Linked DNA regions of Homo sapiens: all the other regions are linked to region 3. Evidence: promoter capture Hi-C in 16 types of primary human blood cells and fetal thymus (Javierre and others, 2016). All regions are on one chromosome and are shown on one strand. The core of a region is centred on a gene start or on the middle of the fragment in contact, and the rest is flanking DNA. Distances in the headings are between cores, read along the strand shown.

The links. Contacts are between HindIII fragments. The CHiCAGO score rates a contact against its expected background, and 5 or more counts as called.
Region 1: a fragment that was not itself captured here is called in contact with the fragment with the promoter of CABP7 in region 3 in 3 of 17 cell types (M0 macrophages, erythroblasts and neutrophils); the score reaches 7.4 in M0 macrophages.
Region 2: a contact is called between a fragment that was not itself captured here and the fragment with the promoter of CABP7 in region 3, in 1 of 17 cell types (erythroblasts). The highest score is 6.0, in erythroblasts.

What each region holds. Positions count from the first base shown.
Region 1 is chr22:29,998,399-30,001,149 of GRCh38, forward strand. It overlaps MTMR3 (myotubularin related protein 3), which reads left to right. Exons shown (of 20, transcript NM_021090.4): 8 at 363-459. Among named protein-coding and RNA genes, the nearest start is that of MIR6818, 7.3 kb to the right of the region's middle. The HindIII fragment of the contact is 4,824 bases long and covers 1-2,751 here.
Region 2 is chr22:30,016,066-30,018,871 of GRCh38, forward strand. MTMR3 (myotubularin related protein 3) reads left to right here. Exons shown (of 20, transcript NM_021090.4): 15 at 463-633; 16 at 1,862-2,007. HORMAD2-AS1 (HORMAD2 and MTMR3 antisense RNA 1) reads right to left here. Exons shown (of 5, transcript NR_110541.2): 4 at 2,552-2,664. Among named protein-coding and RNA genes, the nearest start is that of MIR6818, 10 kb to the left of the region's middle. The HindIII fragment of the contact is 434 bases long and covers 1,044-1,477 here.
Region 3 is chr22:29,718,693-29,721,410 of GRCh38, forward strand. It overlaps CABP7 (calcium binding protein 7), which reads left to right and starts at 1,311. Exons shown (of 5, transcript NM_182527.3): 1 at 1,311-1,841. The coding sequence starts at 1,733. CABP7-DT (CABP7 divergent transcript) reads right to left here and starts at 1,211. Exons shown (of 3, transcript NR_186695.1): 1 at 856-1,211. RefSeq lists an enhancer at 2,620-2,718. The HindIII fragment of the contact is 23,163 bases long and covers 1-2,718 here.

The sequences.
Region 1 (2,751 bases), core at 114-2,613, 280 kb after region 3:
TTGGGAGGCCGAGGCGGGCAGATCACATGAGGCCAGGAGTTCGAGACCAGCCTGGCCCATGTGGTAAAACCCCATCTCTACTGAAAGTGCAAAAATTAGCCAGTCATGGTGGCATGCACCTGTAATCCCAGCTATTTGGGTGGCTGAGGCACAAGAATCACTTGAACCTGGGAGGCGGAAGTTTCAGTGAGCTGAGATCACACCACTGCACTCCGGCCTATGTGACAGAGTGGAATCCTGTCTCAAAAAATATATATATATTTACATATATGTAACATATGTATATTTCTTTGTTTTTATTCCACCTGTTTTGCAAAATGGTATTCATTTCTTCCTTTCTGCTGTTTATCTTTGGCCTCTAGGGGAGCATGTAACTTCAAGGTTTAAAAACGAGGTGGAGAGGATGGGTTTTGATATGAACAACGCCTGGAGGATTTCCAACATCAATGAGAAGTACAAGTGAGTTATATGGGTCCCTGTGGACTGTTTCACAGCCAGTGCCTTTGCAGAAACCGCAATTCTCATGTGGCAGAACATTTGAACTTAGACTTTTTATTTGAAATGGTTTTATTTATTAAATCTAAAGGCATGATCTTCAGAGTATTTATTGAATCTTCTGTTCCCGTTGCTATCATTGGAGTGGAAAGTGATCCTTACTTAACAGGATCCTAGAACCTTCCCTTTTACCCCCTCTAGGCCTCTGTTTTTTCTGGTACATGCATGTCTAAATAATATTGTATTTGCCTGTAGGCAGGCAGTTACCATTTTTCTCATCACCACTTGGCATCACATTAGAGAGAGGATCAGTGGTCTCATAAGCAGTGACAGAACATTTATGAACTAGTTTTTATGACTGTAATTTTACTCCAGGTGGTGTGAAATAGACATAAGTACAGTTGAGTATCCCTTATCTGAAATTCTTGGGACTGTAAATATTTCAGATTTTGGATTTTTTTCAGGTTTTGGAATATTTGCATGAACATAATGAGATTATCTTGGGCCTGGGACCCAAGTCTAAACACAAAATTATTTGTCTCATATACACATTATACAGCTGGAAGGTAATTTTGTACAATATTTTAAATAATTTCATGCATGATGTTTTTTACGAAAAGTTTTGACTGTGACTTGACTGTGACCCATCACATGAGGTCAAGTGTAGAATTTTCCACTTGTGGCATTATGTCAGCACTCAAAGTTTTGGATTTTGGAGCATTTCAGATTTTTGGATTAAAGATGCTCAGTCTGTATTATTCTGTCCTTTAATATATTGATCTAAAACCAACTTCACTGCTATGATCATTTAACCATTAAATATTAATGTAACCTTTATTTGGCTGGACATGGTGGCTCACACCTGCAATCCCAGCACTTTGGGAGGCCAAGGCAGATCAGCTGAGGTCAGGAGTTCGAGACCAGCCCAGCCAACATGGCGAAACACTGTCTCTACTAAAAATACAAAAATTAGCTGGGCGTGGTGGTGCATGCCTGTAGTCCCAGCAACTTGGGAGGCTGAGGCAGGAGAATTGCTTGAACCTGGGAGGTGGAGGTTGTAGTGAGCTGAGATTGCACCACTATATTCCAACCTGGGTGATAGAGTGAGACTCTGTCGCAAAAAAAAAATTAATGTAACCATTTAGCCATTACCCAGTTCCTTAAAATGTGTAAGTGCGTTGGTGGGGGAGGACAGTTAACTACTATGATTTTGGTGATCCAAATTTCTATAAAACAAAATTGTCCATGATAGTTAAATATCTTAAATCTTTAACTATATCCTTCTTGGCCAGGCGCGGTGGCTCACGCCTGTAATCCCAGCACTTTGGGAGGCTGAGGCAGGAGGATCATGAGGTCAGGAGATCGAGACCATCCTGGCTAACACGGTGAAACCCCGTCTCTACTAAAAATACAAAAAATTACCCGGGCATGGTTGCAGGTGGCTGTAGTCCCAGCTACTGGGGAGGCTGAGGCGGGAGAATGGCATGAACCTGGGAAGCGGAGCTTGCAGTGAGCTGAGATTGTGCCACTGCACTCCAGCCTGGGCAACCGAGCGAGACTTTGTCTTAAAAAATAAAAAAAATAAAAAAAAAAAATATATATATCCTTCTCCTACGTTTCCCTGCATCATTAATCATTCTGCGGTCCTCTTAGCTGTCTCAAATTATGACGGGCATTTTCCTGGTCTGTTTGTGGCTAGCCGTCAGAGTTTTCACTGGAAAAGCTATAGCTAATTGCTATACACAGTTCTTAATGTGGACCTTCTCCAGGGAGTTGAGAACCCAGGGTGTTTTGAAGAGTTGGAGCTGCAGACTTTTTATACTTTTGCCTGTTCTCAGTGATGAGTCAAAGCAAAGAAGGAGGGTGAATGCTGGATGAGGGGGCGGCCTCAGAGAGCCTGTGGCTGCATTAGGCTTTCCTGAGTGTAACCTATACTGGAAATTGTTTATCCACAAGTGAGTAGGTAGTGCATACTGAAGAGCTGACTACTGGGAGTGTAGTACCTATAGGACAATGAACAGAATGTTTAGAAAATTAGATCAAGTAAAAAAAAACTGTGAATTAAGACAGACTTGTTGGAAAATAATCCCCAATTCGGCTTTTAAAAATTAACTTCTTGAGAGGCCAAGATAGAGGATTGATTAAGCCCAGGAGTTTGAGACTAGGCTGGGCAACATAGTGAGACCTCATCTCTACAGAAAATTTCTTAAAAATTTGGCCAGGCATGGTGGCTCATTCCTCTAATCCCAGCACTTT
Region 2 (2,806 bases), core at 11-2,510, 300 kb after region 3:
GAGCAAGCTCCATCAGGGCAGAAGAATTTGCTGGTCATTGCTACATGCCCAGCACCTTAGTCATGTTTGGGCCATGTGAAATGCTCAATAATTTGTAGAATGAACAAGTAGTTTTACAAACATACTGTCAGCTCAGACTTGAGTTGTACACTGACGTGCTCCTGCACCCAGTTCATATGCTGTGGCGCTTGTGAGAGTGGCTGTTAATTCACAATCTCAGACTATTTATCACGGAAGCTAAGAGGAATAGGGGCACCAACAACCTGTCTGACTCAGGTTGTTGGGTCCTGGAATTGGTGGTGTGAGGAGGAGGAGGCTACTGCATGGCTTACTGGGTTCCCCGTCCTGACAGAGTAAATTGAAGTGTTCTCAGGGATGTTAGGATAAGGTGGCTCAGCTGAGCTGACTTATCAGAGTGTGCATGCCTGATTGCTTAATTTGTGCTTCATTGGACTTCCATAGGTGAAACTGGTGCAGCATACCTATTCCTGCCTGTTTGGAACATTCCTGTGCAACAACGCCAAGGAGAGAGGGGAAAAGCATACTCAGGAACGGACATGTTCCGTGTGGTCACTTCTTCGGGCAGGCAACAAGGCTTTCAAAAACCTACTGTATTCCTCTCAGTCAGAAGCCGTATGTATCCTTCAGCCTTTCCACTGTGGTCAGCAGAAGGAATTTGGGGTTGGTTACATATGAGAGCCTTTTTGAGTAGTGACTGTTTTTGTGAAGACATCTCTACTGTCTCTGGATGGACTGGTTCCATTTTTCCCCCATGATTCTGTCCTGAGGAAGGCCTGCTTCTGATGGTGCTCTGATCTGTTTCTGATGACTACTTGCTGAGGGTGGTTTGGTTTAACACAGATCTCTACTTTGCCACCCTAGACATGAATCTTTTTTGGCACTGCCTCCAGAGCTTATTTCTAGCATATTCTGTCTTACGGGAGAGGCACTTAAGTTGCTTCCTGATGCACTGATAGCTCAGAATGAGCTGCCACCAGGCCCCCAGCACCCTCCCAGTGTCAATAAGCAATGATACCCACCAAAGCTTCTGTCTCAGAACAGTAAACTGTGTTTGACATTGGTATGTGTGTCTGTCTGATTCTCTGCTCACATGAAGAGCTGGCAGGCCCTTTAAGACTTTGTTCCCCGAAGGAATGAATACCTTCTGTTAAGCAGAGAAAAGGAGGCACATAGACCTATGTGTCAGTTTCATAGTAATACTAGCTTTGTCAGAATGCATCTTAGACCCTAAAGAAGTCAAAAGGAGGCTAATCAGAGTTCATACTGATTTCCTGGACTATTAATATGGTTCTCATTACATTTAAGTAATCACAGAAAAGATTTAAGCTGACTGCTTGTCTCTCCCCTTCAGTGTGCCTTCTGGGGAAGTAACAATACAGCAGGAAAATTTCCTTCTTTTCACATGATTAATTTAAATGATCCCATAAAATGGGTTTGACAGTGTTTCTTGAAGCCAAGCTTTTGTGCCAGCAGGATGGACAATCACCATCTAACAGAATGACTCACTTTCTTAGGCAGTAAAAGCAACAAATCAAGCTGATGAAAGTCAGACATTGAAGGTGACCTAAGAAATAACTATAATGAGAAAGGGATCTAAAAAATATTTTATATTTTCATGCTCTCAAGTGGCTCTTAGGTGAAAAATGTTGGCTATATAAAATGTCTAGTCCTGTATTGGTCCTCTTGGGATAGACCTGTATCCATTGGTGCTGCTTCTTTGTGGAGATCCTGTCAGCCCTGTTGGGTATTCCAGCTGGGTGCTTGCTCTTGATCCTCATTTCCAGACATCCTAGAAGACTTATTGGGGCATATTTAAACCTGTGTCCTCCCCCCTCCTCAGGTGCTGTACCCTGTGTGCCATGTGCGTAACCTGATGCTGTGGAGTGCAGTGTACCTGCCCTGCCCATCCCCAACCACCCCTGTGGACGACAGCTGTGCACCATACCCAGCCCCAGGCACCAGCCCTGATGATCCCCCCCTGAGCCGGTGAGCCCAGGGTGATGCCACAGGCCTGACAGCCTGTGTGGGTGTATTCCTGTGTTGGGACGTGTGCAGGGATGGTCAGAGATCATGATGGTATCTGGCTCCACAGTATCTTTCTTAGGTCTCTGCAGTTTTTTCAGGGAAGTTATAGGGATTTCTGAGCTACGAGGCTGTAAGATCCTTGTTTCTGGGAGTGAGTTAGGCCCTGTTGCTTCATGTTGTTTTGCATACACTGAGCCGCTCCTCAGTGATAGAGCAAATCCTCCAGTTTTTCTGTGACCCCCTGGTTTGTGTTTTCCCCAGTGCTCTGTGCTCCTGCCTATTTGCCATGATTTGTCTTCTGAGGCTTAAAAGGCAGATGCTGTCAGATGACAGAAAATTTTGCTTTGGGGCCAGGCTTGGTGGCTCATGCCTGTAATCCCAGCACTTTGGGAGGCCAAGGTGGGAGGATCGCTTGAGCCCAGGAGTTCCAGACCAGCCTGGGCAATGTGTTGAAACTCTGTTTCTACCCAAAATGCAAAAACTAACCAAGCGTGGTGGCACATACCTGTAGTCCCAGCTACTTGGGAGGTTGAGGCAGGAGGATCACTTGAGCCTGGAAGGTGGAGGTTGCAGTGATCCAAGATCCATTGCACTCCAGCCTGGATGACAGGGCAAGACCTGTCTCAGGAAAAAAAAAAAAGAAAAGAAAATTTGGCTTTGTCACTTGAGAATTAGCTTTATTAAATTCAGACTGATAGATAATACATTAATTTAAAATACTGTAATATCAAGAAACACCAGTGCTACTTTGCCATCCACT
Region 3 (2,718 bases), core at 61-2,560:
CTCCAGAGCAGGGCCCAGGAAGTGCTGGGCCCAGGCTGACCCAACCCCGCTTGGCTGGGGCTAGCATCTCTCACTGAGCCCCTTCTCCCCAGACCCTGAGACAAGGCTGCGATTAATCAGTAACAAAAACAGAAACAAGCAGAAAAGTGTAATCAGCTTGGGAAGGGCAGGGCAGGACCGGGCAGGGCTGTGCAATCAGCGTTCCTGCTGGGACCTTTAGCTGATTGGGCCAAAGGGGGCAGGGAGGTGGTCCCAGTAGGGGGATTCAGGGAAGCACCCAGAGATGGGGCCACAGCCAGGCCAGAAGGTCACCCCCTCCCATGCACATCTGTGCACCATATGCCCACACCACTCCCAGCCCCAGGGCCTGCACACCTCCCCCGACCTGCCAGCGTACAACCTTGGCACACACAGGTGGCCACACACTCCCGACATTTGTCCATCTGCATATGGAGTCACAGACACCTGCGCACGTGCCCAGTGGCACATACACACCCTCATGGATAGCAGACATATGCACACGCAGGCTGCTCCCTCAAACACCTGCCCCCACCCCAGCTCTGGGGTGCCGACGTGCCCTGGGGCCTGGGGAAGCCCTGCACATACATTAGGTCTGAGCTGCAGCCATGTGAACTGGCAGGCCCTCACACCAGACCCCACAGGCACCGGGCCATGTCTCTGTCCCGAACTGCCCTGGGGGCCATGAGACACTTTGGCTCCTCTTCTGCAAGCTGAAAGGTAGGGGCTTGGGAAGGGTCCGGGACTGGGGCCCCATTGTGGGGAGCAAGGTCAGCGGCAGGGTGTCAGTCACAGGCAGGGCAGGAAGCCTACCCCAGACGTGTACCCAGCTCTTACCTGCTGCTCCTGCCCTGTGACCTTGGTCAACGTCCTTCTCTCTCAGCCTCAGTTTCCCCACCTTGGATCCTCCTGGCACGGAAACGGTGACTCTTCTTGAGGACCCAGGTGCTTGGGGCCAGTCTCACCTCTCTGGGTCTACAGTTCTTAGTTCCGGGCTCTCCGCTCCTGGTGCGTGGATGGGGGAAGGTGAGCCAAGGGGCAGGAAGGAGGACCCCCGCAACCCACCCCCTCCCTGGTCCTGGTGGCTGCAGACTTAGGGTGAGGAGAGCCAGTGAACAGAGGGGAGCCCTAGTGGGAAAGGGGAATCGGGGCCGAAGGGGAGAAGGAGCCCCGGGCAGGTTTGGGGCGGCCGCTCAGGGGCCGGCGGCGGGAAGGGGCGGGCTGGGGGTGGGGAGCGCGGAGGGGGCGGGCGGGCGGCTGGCGGGGGAGGCGGGGAGCGCAGCCAGCGCGGCACAGAACGAGCGAGCGAGCGAGCGGAGAGGCGGCTACAGCCTGAGCGCCGGGCCGGTAGCGGCCGCGCCGGCGAGCGGACTAGCGGGCGGCGAGCAGCGCGGAGCGCGCGGGGCACCGAGGAGCGGGCGCGGCGGGCACCGCGCGAGGCAGCCGGAGCTCTCGGAAAGGCCAGAGCGGCGCCGCCCCCGCTGCCCCTGCGGGGCCCCGGCTGGGAGCCCGACGAGGGAGCGGGCGGCATGGCCCGGCGGCCCGGGGCGCGGGGGCGCTAGGCCCCCGGAGGGGCGTCCCCAGCCTCGCCGCTGCCGCCGCCGCCCTCCGCAGCCGCGCGCCCCGCCCGCTCCAGCCGCCCCCGGGGCCGCCACCGGCCCATGAGCCCCGGCCTCAAAGTTTGCGGCGGGCGGGCGGGCGCGGAGCCTCCAAGATGCCGTTCCACCCGGTGACGGCGGCGTTGATGTACCGGGGCATCTACACCGTGCCCAACCTGCTGTCGGAGCAGCGCCCGGTGGACATCCCGGAGGACGAGCTGGAGGGTGAGTGTCCGCCGGGATCCCCGCCCCGGCGGCCCTCCTACCTGTGCGCCCAGGTGAAGCGCGGGCCAGGGGCGCGGGGGCGGGGGGCGGGGGGCGGTCCGCAGGTGCCGGTTGCCAGGTGGGCGCCCCAGCTAGCAGCTGTGCCCCGCGGCAAGACCTGTCCGCACCCCGGGGCGCCGCGGTGGGGGTCGCTCAGGCGGAGAGCGGCCCAGCCCCTGCCCGCGTGGTCCCCAGCGCTGCGGAAACTTGCCGGGCCCCGCAGCGGGGTCACGGGGCCGCGCAGTCGGCGGTGACGGTGCGGCAACGCGGCGGACTGGGGCGGGGGTCCGCGCTGAGCCCCCAGCGCCGGCCCGGCCGGAGCACCCGCATCCTGATCCCCTCCGCGGCGCCCGCCCGCGGCTCTCTGCTCGCATTGACATTCCGCTCGTGTCGCTTTAAAAATTCAATCTGCTCGGGCAGCAGCAGAAGGGGAGAGGGCGACTGCCCTGCTCTTGCCCGCTGCGGGGCCGCCCCCGTCCCCACCTGCGGCCGTAGCCCCTTCCCTGCAGCCCTGCGGGGACCCCCAGCCCGGCGCGCCGGGAAGGCGGCCCGGGAGGCGGTGGCGACAACAAGTGGCCGGACTGGGCGGCTAAGTCGCGATAGCCAAGCCTGGAAGGGAAAGGCAGAGAGGCCAGGACCCAAACCCGCCCCCACCCCGTTCCCCCTGCCTCTCAGACTCGCAGGGGGATGGCAGGCCGCTGGCTGGGCGAGGTCAGAGCAGAGGGCAGGGGCAGGGGTCCGGGACAGTGTGTCCTGAGGAGCAGTGAGACCCCTGGGGCCCGCCCAGCTCCTTCCCTGCTGGGCTGGGGGAGGTGCTGAGGTTTCCCCTCCCCCCAGA